Linked DNA regions of Homo sapiens: regions 1, 3 and 4 are each linked to region 2. The links are contacts of gene promoters, found by promoter capture Hi-C in blood cells and fetal thymus (Javierre and others, 2016). All regions are on one chromosome and are shown on one strand. The core of a region is centred on a gene start or on the middle of the fragment in contact, and the rest is flanking DNA. Distances in the headings are between cores, read along the strand shown.

Region 1 (3,180 bases), core at 386-2,885, 340 kb after region 2:
CCTCCTTACCCTTTACCTCCAGCCATGACTGTAAGACTCCTGAGTCCTCCCCAGCCATGCTTCCTGTACAGCCTGTGGAAATGTGAGCCAATTAAATCTCTTTACTTCATAAATTACCAAGTCTCTGGTAGTTCTTCATAGCAATGCAAGAACAGGCTAATACAGAAAATTGGTACCAAGGAGTGGAGCATTGCTATAAAAATACCACAAAATGTGGAAGCAATTTTGGAACTGGGTAACAGGCAGAGGTTGGAACAGTTTGCAGGGCTCAAAAGAAGACAGGAAGATGAGGGAATATTTGGAACTTCTTAGAGACTTGTTGAATGGTTGTGACCATTCGACTAAACATTTAACTAAATGCTGATAGTGATGGACGTTGAAGTACAGGCTGAGGTGGTCTCAGATGGAAATGAGGAACTTACTGGAACTGGAACAAAGGTCAACTTTGTTGTGAGTTAGCAAAGAGGTTGGAGGTATTGTGCCTCTGTCCTATAGATCTGAGGAACTTTGAATTTGAGAGAGATAATTTAGGGTATCTAATGGAAGAAATTTCCAAGCAGCAAAGCCTTCAAGATATGACCTGGCTGCTTCTAACAGCATATGTTCATATGAATGAGAAGAGATGATCTGAAACTGAAACTTACATTTAAAAGGGAAGCAGAGCATTAAAGACAGAAAAATTTGCAGCCTGACCATGTGGTAGAAAAGAAAAACCCATTTTCTGGGGAGGAATTCAAACTGGCTATAGAAATCTGCATAAGTAAAGAGGAGCCGATGTTAATAGCCAAGACAATTGGAAAAATGCCTTGAAGGTGTTTTAGAGACATTTACATCAGCCCCTCCCATCACAAGCCCAGAGGCATAGGAGGAAAGAATGGTTTCATGGAGTGGGCCCCAGGACCCACTGCCCTATGAAATCTCAGAATACTGCTCACTGTGTACCAGGTGCTCTAGCTGCAGCTGTAGCTAAAAGGGCCCCAGATACGTCTCAGGCTGCTGCTCCAGAGGGTGCGAAACATAAGCCTTGGCAATTTCATGTGGTGTTAAGCCTGTGGGTGCACAGATGGCAAGAGTTGAGGCTTGGGAGCCTCTGACTAGATTTCAGAGGATATATGGAAACACCTGAGTGTCCAGGTGGAAGTCTGCTGCAGGGGCAGAGCCCTCATGGAGAACCTCTACTAGGGCAGTTTGGAGGGGAAATATGTGGTTGGAGACCCCACACAGAGTCCCCACTGGGGCACCGCCTCTTAGAGTTGTGAGAAGAGGACCACTATCCTCTAGACCCCAGAAATTTCCTCCAGACCCCATTGACAACTTGCACTGTGCACTTGGATAAGCCACAGGCACTTTTTACAGAGTCTGGATATTAGAACTTTGTCGGATGCATAGTTTGTAAATATTTTCTCCTGTTCTGTAAGTTGTCTGTTTACTCTGTTGGTAGTTTCTCTTGCTGTGCAGAAGGTCTTTAGTTTTATTAGGTCCCATTTGCCAATTTTTTATTATTTCTGCAATTGCTTTTGGCATCTGTATCATGAAAGCTTTGCAGAGGCCTGTGTTCAGAATGGTATTTCCTAGGTTATCTTCCAGGGATTTTATAGTTTTAGGTTTTATTTACTTCTTCCCTGTCTAAGCAATCAAATACATTGCTATGGATGTGTAATCTACCCCTCTTTTTTTCTCCTTTGTGCCTTTGTACAAATTTTTCTGAATTTCTTTAAAAGTTGTTATATTACAAAGCTTTTGGGATGGAACCTCTTAAATAAGTTAACTGTATTCAGAGTGCAGAGTTCAAAGTGTATTACCTTTTCAAGACAACCCAATCATCAATGACGTAGTCCCTGAATGGCCTTAGTTTATATTCATGGCAATGTTTACTATCCATGAAGGTCTGACCTAAAATTTGATTACTTTATTTCTTATGAAGCATATAGAGTCAACTGATAAACGTAAAGCTAGACTCAATAATAATAAGGTATAAGTCAGTTTTTTTCACTCATTTGCAGAGATTAAGTGTATACACAGAATATTCGCAATACATATAAGACAATGAATTTATATAGTTTCTGATATGTAATTATAAACACAGAATTATTTATTTTAGAACACCCTTTCTGAATAATGTATTTAATTTTTCCATCATTTAAAAATATGTTTTATGAATAAATATATAGTTAATTATTGGGGAAATAAAATTATTGTGGAAAATTACCCATAGCAAGATTTAATATTGCAAAAATTTTACACCCCTTTATTTTGTACATGTTTACCTTTGCATGTCCACTGTCTGAGAGAGTGTCTACTGCCTAGTAGGCAATAAATAGATATACATAGAATAAATAAATAAATAACATATAGTTCAAAGTTTGATAAACATATGTGAAGATTATATGGCCTTTTGGGGCTTTTCTTCTTCACATCCTTGAAAACAGTTTTTAGTGATTTTCAGTGAACTATTTTTGATTATAAGTCTTCACTGATTTAGTTCCCGATGACTATAGTTCTTATATTCTGATTATTGCATACAAATAAATTTGGCCTATTAATTACAGAGGGAACTTATTTTAGAAATTTGCAATTCATTCTTTATGGAACTATGGATGTCATTTTCCCTGTTTTAGGTCTATTCTTGAATGAATATAAATGTTAGACCTGGTTAGACTAAAATACACCATTGGTGAGTAAGTGAGAATTTTTTTCTACATACTATTGAGTATCTTGTATATGTCAAACAATGTGCTATTTTGCCTATATTATTTCTTTTAATCCATTTTATAGCAAGAAGAAGAAAGTATCACTTTGTGGCTATGAAAACTGAAAATTAAAATTGCTAAATAAGTAACATAAGGTTTATGAGTAGCAAACTTAGATTTTGGAGCCAAAAAATCTTTCTCCAGAACCTGTGTCTGTAACTACGACATTACATTTCCTCACACAGGGCAGATACTTTATATTACTTCCCAAAGTAATCACACACCTTAAATAGTGTGTGGCACAAAGTAGGTGCTGAAATAATTTGTTATAACAGGATGGTTAATCTAAGGTCAAGTCTGTTGTCATAACAAATACCAGAAAGATAAGATTTTTAGAATAACATAATTTAGAATTTCTGCAACAAAATGACTTCAGATATTCTTTTTAGCTCCTCATAGATATATAAGATATATATAATTGACAGAAAAA
Region 2 (3,312 bases), core at 629-3,128:
ACAATTATTTGATGTTGTGAGAAAAACATGGGGCTAGGACTGAGCTCTTTTAATGGGTGTGATGATGAGCAAGCCTGCTAATACCTTTAACGTTCAGGTACCAAATATGTAAAATGAAAAATACTTGTCCTCCCTACGGCAAGAATCATTATGTGCATCAAATATAAGCAAAACTTTTATGGCTAAAATAAAAGGATATGGAGAAGAAGGAATAATAAATTCTAATTCTGTTCATAAAGAAAAACATTTCAAATTTGTATTGATAAAATAAATTGAAACAGAATAGGGACATATTTGTAGCTTTTAGAAATAAATTAGCTGTGAATATATTATTTTTAAAAACTGTAATAAATGTACATTGAGTACAAATGAATAATTATCCCAAAAACCAGAATTTTAATGCTAGAAGAAAAGGCAGATCATCTCGTTTAAGACATAAATTTAATCTTCTTAACAAGAACCTTGTTATTCAAGCGGAACACCTAAATGGCTGCTCTTGTTAAAATAAACCTGAGGGTGGGCTTGCTTTGTCTCTCCCTGCACGGCTCCAGAAAATTTCTACACAAGTTCTCCTATGGAACAGTTTTAAAACCCCAGCTTGAGTACTAACACTAGTTTCTAAAAATAAGGAGAATACGGCCAAGAGGTAAAATTGTACAAAGGCAACTAGAGTCAGGACTAGAATCCAACTGTCTTGATTTAGTCTAATACTCTTCAGTCTACTAGTCTAGTATTCGCTCTATGTCCTGTTACTTCTATTTTTTTTTTTAAGAAAAAAATATGAAGGGTTTTTTTTTTTGACTCTGTAAATAATTCTTTCAAATCTCTTTCTGGCTCAAGATCACTCAACTGTAATCTTTCTGGAAACAAGTAATTGATAATATAGGTGAGATCAGATAAGTTAAAAGAGCCACCCCAAGTTCATTCTGTTCAGGATTAAGTAAAGGTAACACTTTAGGGGAAGGTGTTTAGACTACAAGCTGCGGTGTTGTGAGCGCCCAAGTATCATTTAATTGTCCGAAACGTCAAGATAAAATATTTCCGAGGGGCATCACGGAAGTTTAACAGAATGTGTTAGACTTGAACGTTCAACAGCTTGCTCATTTTGCCAAAAGCCCTTTCACTAAATGTGGGAAATTTGGAAAATGGTACCTCAATAAATAAACAAACAACGATTTTTAATTTAAGAACCCAGGAAAAAATGTTAACAATTCTCACATTCAGATTTCTTATCAAAAGTCAACGTGAAATATAACTAATTTATCGCAAGCAATTTTATCAGAAACTTTTCATTATCTCTTCCTCCATAAGAAAACCAAACTGCATTTACGTGCGCTTTCAACAGTGTTAGAAAACTAAGCACTCAAATTTTTTGTACTACATATAACACTTTACATGAACTTTCAGATATTAAGTAAAGTTTGGATCCTCAATTCTTTATAAAGCCGTTTATAAGAGGTAAATATCTTCACGACCGCCAAATGAGAGAAAAAGATTTCGAAGTTCGTCTCTTAAGTTACTACGTGGAATGCAGAGGGGCTCAACTGCAGCTGTGTGTGTGTTTATTTTTAATGCCGCGATCCTAAAAACATCTTTAGGAGTTTAGGTTTGCTTCACTGCCTTTCCCAAAATTCAGCAGCTTTGATTTGCCTTTTCCAGGGAGACAGGAAGCCAATAAACAGGGAAAAAAAAGCAAACGGCGACAATTACAAGGTCGTGAAACTCCACGACCTCCCAGCTGAAAACAAGACCTCGGGTTTGCACTCCGGCTCTCTAGGGCAGACACTGACCTTAGGAGTCTGCGAAACGCCCACGCTCCACGTAACTTTCTCTGAAACATTCTCTGGAAAGCTTGTCTTTTCCTAGCCGAATCTGGATTACCAAGGCTTCCGGAACTCGCAGGCTTCCGGAGCGACGCAGGAGCCGGAAGTGGCTGAAAAAAAAAAGAAAAAGTTACACCAACGAGAACTGCGCTTTAGCGGCGCTGCTGAAGGCACTGGATGGCCAAACAACCGCGAACGCCGACAAGCCGAAGAGCCGAAGGGCCGAAAAGCCGAAGCGGACACCCGCGCGCGGTGATTGGCCGGTTGGCCGGAAGAACTCTGTCTCTGATTGGCAGGAGAGTCACGAACCGGTCAGCCCCGGGTCAGGGGCCGCAAGTGAGGACACTACAAGTGTCGAGGGGCCTAGGGGAAGCCGGGGCTTGGGAGGGCAGGGCTTTCTCTGCTTGCGGACATCGCGAAGGGCCTCTGGCAGGCGCCGCCGGGTGGCGGCGAGACGCCTCCGCGCCTCCGGGGTTCCTTGTTCGCTGTCGGAGGAGGACCGGCTGAGGGATGGCCTGGTGGGGAGGGAGCCCTCGGGCAGGTGGCTGCGTCGGGCCTGGGGCAGTTGTGCTGCGCTTGGAGACCTGCCCGCCCTCGGGGCCTGTGTGCACAGGGAGGATAGGCTGTTTATCTCTGCAGGCTCAGGAAGGCAGGTAGCTGGCCCGTCAGTCATCCGCCCTGCAAAGCGCTCCCGAGAGACCCCGTAGAGCGGGCCAGCGCGCGCCTGGCCTGAGGTTTCCCGCCCCCGGAGGCCCTCACATCTCCCCGGTAACGCTTAGGAATTCGGGCAGCCAGCTCGCCTACCCCTGGGGAATCGAGGCAGAGCTTCTGGGAATGGGGTCTGAGGGAAGAGTGCTCACCAGGCAGTGACATGTAGCCGTTGAGGATCGCCACTGCCTTCTCGTTCTGTGGTATGAATGGCAGTGTCTCTCTAGAGAGTTAGTGCTTAAGTTTGAATGATGGCAGGCACTTCAGGATTCCAGCACGTAGTAGGGTTTAAGAACGTCTTAGTTCTTACCTCCAGTCTCGACTCACCGTTCCTACAAGGAACACTCACTTCTACGAAAGCTCTATTAGACATTCGAGGGAGAGCTTATACTGTAGAACCAGTGTTATTAGGAAAGTTTTTTTTTTTTTGCTTGTATTTTTATTTCAGAAACTACCCATGGAGCAGAGTTGCTAAAATAAAATTTATTAACTCTAATGCTATCCAAATTGTGAAACAATGGTACAAATGAGATAGAGTAGAAGCTACAAATTGATAGAGTATGTAGTTCACTTAGGGGTTTGGGAGTGGATTTTCTAGAGCTGCAACTGTCCAGTGTAGTAGTCACTGGCCACCTGAAAAGTGGCTAGTCTGAACTGAGGTCTGCTCTAAGTGTAGAACATGCACCAGATTTCTAAAGCGTGGTCTGAAAAGAAAAAGAATGTAAAGTATTTCATTAATTTTATATTGCTTACATGTCAAAATGAGAATGTTTTGGAAAAT
Region 3 (3,076 bases), core at 520-3,019, 310 kb after region 2:
CAACAGACTATGAAGGAGTTTCCAGCAAGGTAGAAGGAGAATCAAAAAGAGAATGGTGTACTTTTGACAAAAATTACAAAAGTGTTTTAAAGAAGAGGAAACGGTATGCTGACACAATTTTAAAATTGCTGAAAAGTGCCCATTGGATTTAGCTATATGGAGATCTTGGTGACTAACAAGAGGAGTTCAGCAGAGAGGTAGAATTCAGTGGGATGAAATCAATGTGTAGACAGCAAGTTTAGGCAATTGTTTTATTGTTTAAAAACTTTACCAAGGTATATTTTCTTCATCATAAAGTAGACAGTACTTGTGAGTGTTGATGTAAATGGGAATATTGCTGTAAATTGGAGAAGCAGCTGGACTATAATATAAGGTGAAGGGAGGTGGGTTTCTAAATTTTAATTAGTTAATTAATTTGTTTTTAAGATGGGAGAGATTTCAGTACGAATATGATGATGGGAACCACCCAAGACATTTATACAGAAGGGAGAAACATGCAAAGAGCAAAACTCAAAAGTGTGTGAAGTAGAGGAGATAGTATACAGGGCAGAAGTTGAGAGGTTAGCTTTATCTAAGAGGAAAGACAATGTACCTTCTTATGATAGGAAGGAAGGTAGCATATGTAGGTAGAGATGCAGGTTGGTGGGTATAGTTGGTGGTGGAGGTTTTTGTAAAGCCTCTACTGATTGGTTTCATTTTCTCAGTGAAGCTTAAAGCAAGGTCATCAACTAAAAGTGTAAGTGTCTGTGTGTTGATGGGGTAGGGTCTCTGGAAGTCTGACTAGAGAGAAGACAATATGAAATAGCCCTTGAGAGAATGAACCAGTTAAGAAAATGACGGCTACATAGTACCAAGTTTCCATCTGAAATTGGAGGTCATGCACTTAAAATAACGTTAATCAGCACAGTTGGACTTTTTCTCCTATCACAATTAGAGATATAGGAGTATGTTCAAGTAGGAACTGAATTAGATTTGACCAGGTGTTAATCTAGGTGTGACTTTGCCCAAGAAGTGGGCAGGGAGGAGGACAGAAACTGAGAACATTACAGTAAGTGAAAAAAGTCAGCCACAGAAAGACAAATACTGCATGATCTGGTTGATGTGGAAATTTAAGAAGTCAGTCTCATAAAAGCAGAGTGGAATGGTGGTTACCAGAGGCTGGGGATGTTGGGGAGATGTTGGTCAAAAGATACAAAATTACAATCAGACAGGAGGATTAAATTCACAATATGTATTGTACAGCATGGTGACTATAGTTAACGAGGATATATTGTATTATTGAAAAATTCTAAGTGGATGTTAACTGTTCTCACTGCAAAAGTGATAACTATGTGAGGTCATGCATATTTTAATTAGCTCAGTTTAACTATTCTGCAATGTGTATATACCTCAAAACATCACAATAAACACAAACAATATTATCTATTTAAAATAAAAATAAATAAATAAATTTGAAAATAAAAAAACTGATAATGCCTCCTAAGGAGGGATTATAATGATGCTCCATGGAATATAAACTGAGTAAAACGACACTGAGATCCTGAAGCAGGGGAGGACCAATGAAAAGCTTAGAGTCAATAACTTAGAGATCCTGATGCCATCAAAATATTTCATACAGGCCTTTCATAAATAGGAAAAAGGTGACTTGTTGGCTTTTAGTTCAACCTTAAAAAATACGTCTTCCAGTTACCTGCAGAATTTCATTTTCTTAATGTCTGTGAATCAATTGATTTCAGTGATTCTAACTAAATCGTGATTTTTGTCTGAGGCGTAAGTCCTATTTCTATGTGATTTTTTGCTGAATAGGGCTACTTGGATTGCATATGAGGAATCAGTAGTTTTTATATCTTTCAAAAATAAGCATGCTTTTGAAAGCAGTAGGGTAACATGGAACCTATGGTAATTATTTGCAATAGTGTTGAGTAGCACATTCAGAATTTATGCAGCAGAAACTTTTAGCTTGAATGAATTAAAGCTTTTGGATTTGAAAACCTATCTGTTTCTTAATATAATCAGATATGTGACTCTCTGTAAACTTTCTTTGCTTTCAAAGGCAAACATAACTAATAATTTCTGTAAAGGTCTTGAATCGTTCCAACATCTGTTCTTGGTTTACTATAAAAACCATGTCTCTGATCTCATGTGTTGAACTACTGTATGTTTGCCACTGTCTATTTCCTGTGAAAAAATACATCGAACAATAATAGCTTTTGTTCCTAACGTTCCAACCACTAAAACAGCTGAACAAATAACATCCATGCTTTCATTTGGAATAATTTATTCCATGTACATGTTTATGCAGAGTCATTTGGCTTATTGGACGTTTCATCATTTAAAAATCAAATCTCAGAATTTTAGACTACTGAAAACTCTGGTCTAATAGTTTCCTCATGTTTATAGTAATTCTCTTAACAGGATTTCCTTCCTAATTCATCATCTTATTTTGTGTAGGGTTTGGTATATGAGTAAAAGTGGTTAAAATTCCCTGCATTAACAAAGTTAGTGAAAATTTCCATTCGAGGCTACACATTTTGCGAATAACATTAAAAGATTAAATAATTTGGCATTTGAGCCATAAAAAGTAACTATTTCTGCTCTTTTGTTGCCTAAAGAAATAATAACTAAACAGTACTAATGATACAAATTATAATACATTTGTCTTAACACACTCCAGATGACTTAATGATGGGGCAGCAACACAGAGCAAGCCTCACTTCCATTCCACAAAAATCTTAGTACACAAACTTTACTAGCCCAGACATGGAAGAAGTTTTGCACTGATTAAATAAGACAGATAAAAAAATACTCATTAAAAGTTAGAAAAATAAGTTATTTAAAAGTCAATTTTAAATCATTTGCAGTGCCATCAGTTTGGAATTTTTTAATATACTTTTTTTTTGTTTCTAAAAATTTGGAATGATAATTTAGAATCCATTTACCACAACATCCACTGAAAGCCAAAAATTTGCAGTGGGTCATTCAGCTATACAGTTGATTCAGTGTTTAATAACAGACTACCTAGAAGGCTCGGGATACCTAATGTTTTCAATTTACATTCACATATTATAATCTATGA
Region 4 (2,842 bases), core at 117-2,616, 390 kb after region 2:
ATCTAGTATTTGATAATAATTGCATTTCTGGTACTGAGGAAATCCTTCACTGTGCGTAATTGGCTTCTCTGGATGGAACAGAAAAAATACGACACCAAGAAAGAGAAAGAGAAAGGGAAAGAGAAAAGAGAGAGAGAGAGAGAGAGAGACTCATTTCACATTGCTAAATATTGTGATTTTCACTCAAAATAAGTGGACTTGAGAACAATAAAGAGTTCAAATCACGATGCTAAAGCTTAAGAGATAGTTTCATTTAGATATATGTTTGAAAGTGTTCCCCAAATTTCTTGTGTTGGAAACAGTCCACGAATTCATATGTTGCTTGGAGGTGGGGCCTTTGGGAGGGGATTAGTGACTTTGTAAGATAAGGAAGAAAGACCTGAAATGACACGCATGCTCTTGCCCTCTTGACATGTGATGTCCTTTGCCATGTTATGATGCTGACAGAAGCCCCTCATCAGATGCTGGTGCCATTCTCTTGGGCTTCCGAGCCTCCAGAACTGTGAGCTACGTAAATTTCTTTTATTTATAAATTATCCAGTATATGATACAGGTTGAATATTCCTTGTCTGAAATGATTGAATTTTTTTTTGATTTAAGAATTTTGTATTATACTTACTAGTTGAGCAGCCCAAATCTGAAAATCTGCAATCCAAAATGCTCCGGGAATTATTCCTTTGAGCTTCATATTTGCACACAAAAACTTTTGAATTTTAGATTTTTTGATTTGTGATGTTGAACCTTAGTCCATTTTCTTAGCAACAGAAAATGGACTAAGTGACATAGTTTGTTCTAATGTGTGATTCACATTGAGTATAATATTACCACTGTCATCATATATATTATGATTATTGTAATATAAATTCAAACTTTTAATTTAAATGTTAGTTTATTAACCTAGTAATGTGTACCATAAAACTCAAATCTTTCCATAACAATGCTAAAAAGCAATAGCATGAGATAGTAGAAACAGTGAAGGATTGAAAGTTTAGTTTGTTCATAAAATGAGATAGTAATGTTAGCTTACATTAGGGGTAAAAATAAAATCATTCATATTAAGTGATTTTGTATAATGCAATAGGATTTTTTAATTTAATTAACTAGCAGGTAGTTTATTATAAAAATAAGAAATTAAATTACTTAAGCACACTGGAGTAATTCTTACCTGAAGAAATTTCTTGCTTAGGCTGGGCATGGTGGCTCATACCTATAATCCCAGCAGTCTGGGAGGCTGAGGCAGGAGGATCACTGGAGCCCAGGAGTTTGAGGTCAACCTGGGCAATGTAGTGAGACTCCATTTCTACAAAAAATTAAAAACTTAGCGAGGGAAGTGGCATGCATCTGTAGTCCCAGCCACTCAGGAGGCTAAGCTGGTAGGATTACTTGATCCCAGGAGGGCAAGGTTGTAGCGAGCTGTGATCACGCTGCTGTACTTCCAGCCTCGGTAACAGAGAGAGATCCTGTCTCAAAAGAAAAAAGAAAGAAAGAAAGAAAGAAATGCCTTGGTTATATGAAACAAGTGTGTGGAAGTCCTCCTCCTTTTAGGTTTGTTGCAAGAATATGATAGTTCCTTGATTTTCTAAGATGTAAAAACAGCATATGTAAAATTACCCCAGGCTGAGATAATTGGTTTCACTTTGATATCCCTCAGTTTCCACATTTACATTAAGCGTACTACGAGAAAGACATGCTTGTTTATTTATTCTAAGTGGGTCTATAATGTTTAGATAATGTAATGAATGGAATATATCTGGTATCATGCACATTAATTTCTTATTTTAGCCATGACCTTAAATGCAGTACAAACTGATAAAATTATAAGAATGTGAAGAGAGCACAGAAGAAGAAAAAAGCCAAAACAGCTAATATCTGATGCATACATGAGGGAGAAAGCTGTTCTTGCAATTGAAAAAGCTAGAAGACACCTTGCAGTCATTGCATTTGGATGTAATAGCTACCAAACATAACCACAAAGTGGAACTTGTTCATCTAGAACATCACATAACACAGCCTGAAAGGGTCTTTACAGCTGCTAAGAAACTTTGTAGTCAGAAAGATCAGCTACACCCTTGAGATTGTGAGAAAATGGGGAAACATATCTATTCAAAAATCACATAGCTGTTGAAAAGGAAAGGGAGCTGGAAACATTACTTTGCACATCTTTTTCTGAATTATTGAGGAATATCTATTTTACCATAAATTTTTTGACTTCATCTCTCTTGTTGTTTGTCTCTAAATTCAATATATACTGTAAGTGTTGGTTATAGAAATGCTATCAAGTTTCGTTTAGATATAAATTAAAACTAAATAAAATTGTAGTATTTATCCAATTATGCCTGTAGATGGCTCGAAGATAAATCTGCCAAAACTGTAAGTGTAAATCCTTCCTTATTTACTTTGTATTTCAGAGGCAAAGCAAATGGCACATTTTTCCTAGTAAGGAAAATGACACATATCTGACAGGTGAAATTAGCAACATCTACTCAATGCAGTTCACTAAAGCTTTACTGTATAGAAAGTGCTACCTATAGGACTCTGAACAAGATGCTAGTAACACACAGATGGATAAATAGGGCAATGTCCTTGTCTACATAAAGCTCATATCTTGGTAGGAGTTCACAGAGAGGACGATGATGATACATATGTTCCAACTATGTGGTTTACTGCAAAGTATATATATATATGTATGCATGTGTGTATATATATATATATCTACTTTTAAAAGTATATAATTTTTATTGTTCATGCAAACAAAAAAGTGATTTGCCTTCTTAAAAAATAACATGATCCAATAGTTGAAATCTGTTCAAGTTTACAATCTTTGTCCCCAAGTTTTCCAATT

The links. Contacts are between HindIII fragments. The CHiCAGO score rates a contact against its expected background, and 5 or more counts as called.
Region 1: a fragment that was not itself captured here is called in contact with the fragment with the promoter of PEX2 in region 2 in 1 of 17 cell types (fetal thymus); the score reaches 8.8 in fetal thymus.
Region 3: a contact is called between a fragment that was not itself captured here and the fragment with the promoter of PEX2 in region 2, in 1 of 17 cell types (endothelial precursors). The highest score is 6.1, in endothelial precursors.
Region 4: a contact is called between a fragment that was not itself captured here and the fragment with the promoter of PEX2 in region 2, in 1 of 17 cell types (endothelial precursors). The highest score is 7.2, in endothelial precursors.

The regions. Positions count from the first base shown.
Region 1 is chr8:77,339,313-77,342,492 of GRCh38, forward strand. No RefSeq gene overlaps it. Among named protein-coding and RNA genes, the nearest start is that of PEX2, 340 kb to the left of the region's middle. The HindIII fragment of the contact is 199 bases long and covers 1,537-1,735 here.
Region 2 is chr8:76,998,200-77,001,511 of GRCh38, forward strand. It overlaps PEX2 (peroxisomal biogenesis factor 2), which reads right to left and starts at 1,879. Exons shown (of 4, transcript NM_000318.3): 1 at 1,791-1,879. RefSeq lists an enhancer at 1,874-2,168. The HindIII fragment of the contact is 1,935 bases long and covers 1,850-3,312 here.
Region 3 is chr8:77,307,303-77,310,378 of GRCh38, forward strand. No RefSeq gene overlaps it. Among named protein-coding and RNA genes, the nearest start is that of PEX2, 310 kb to the left of the region's middle. The HindIII fragment of the contact is 408 bases long and covers 1,566-1,973 here.
Region 4 is chr8:77,390,533-77,393,374 of GRCh38, forward strand. No RefSeq gene overlaps it. Among named protein-coding and RNA genes, the nearest start is that of PEX2, 390 kb to the left of the region's middle. The HindIII fragment of the contact is 2,267 bases long and covers 234-2,500 here.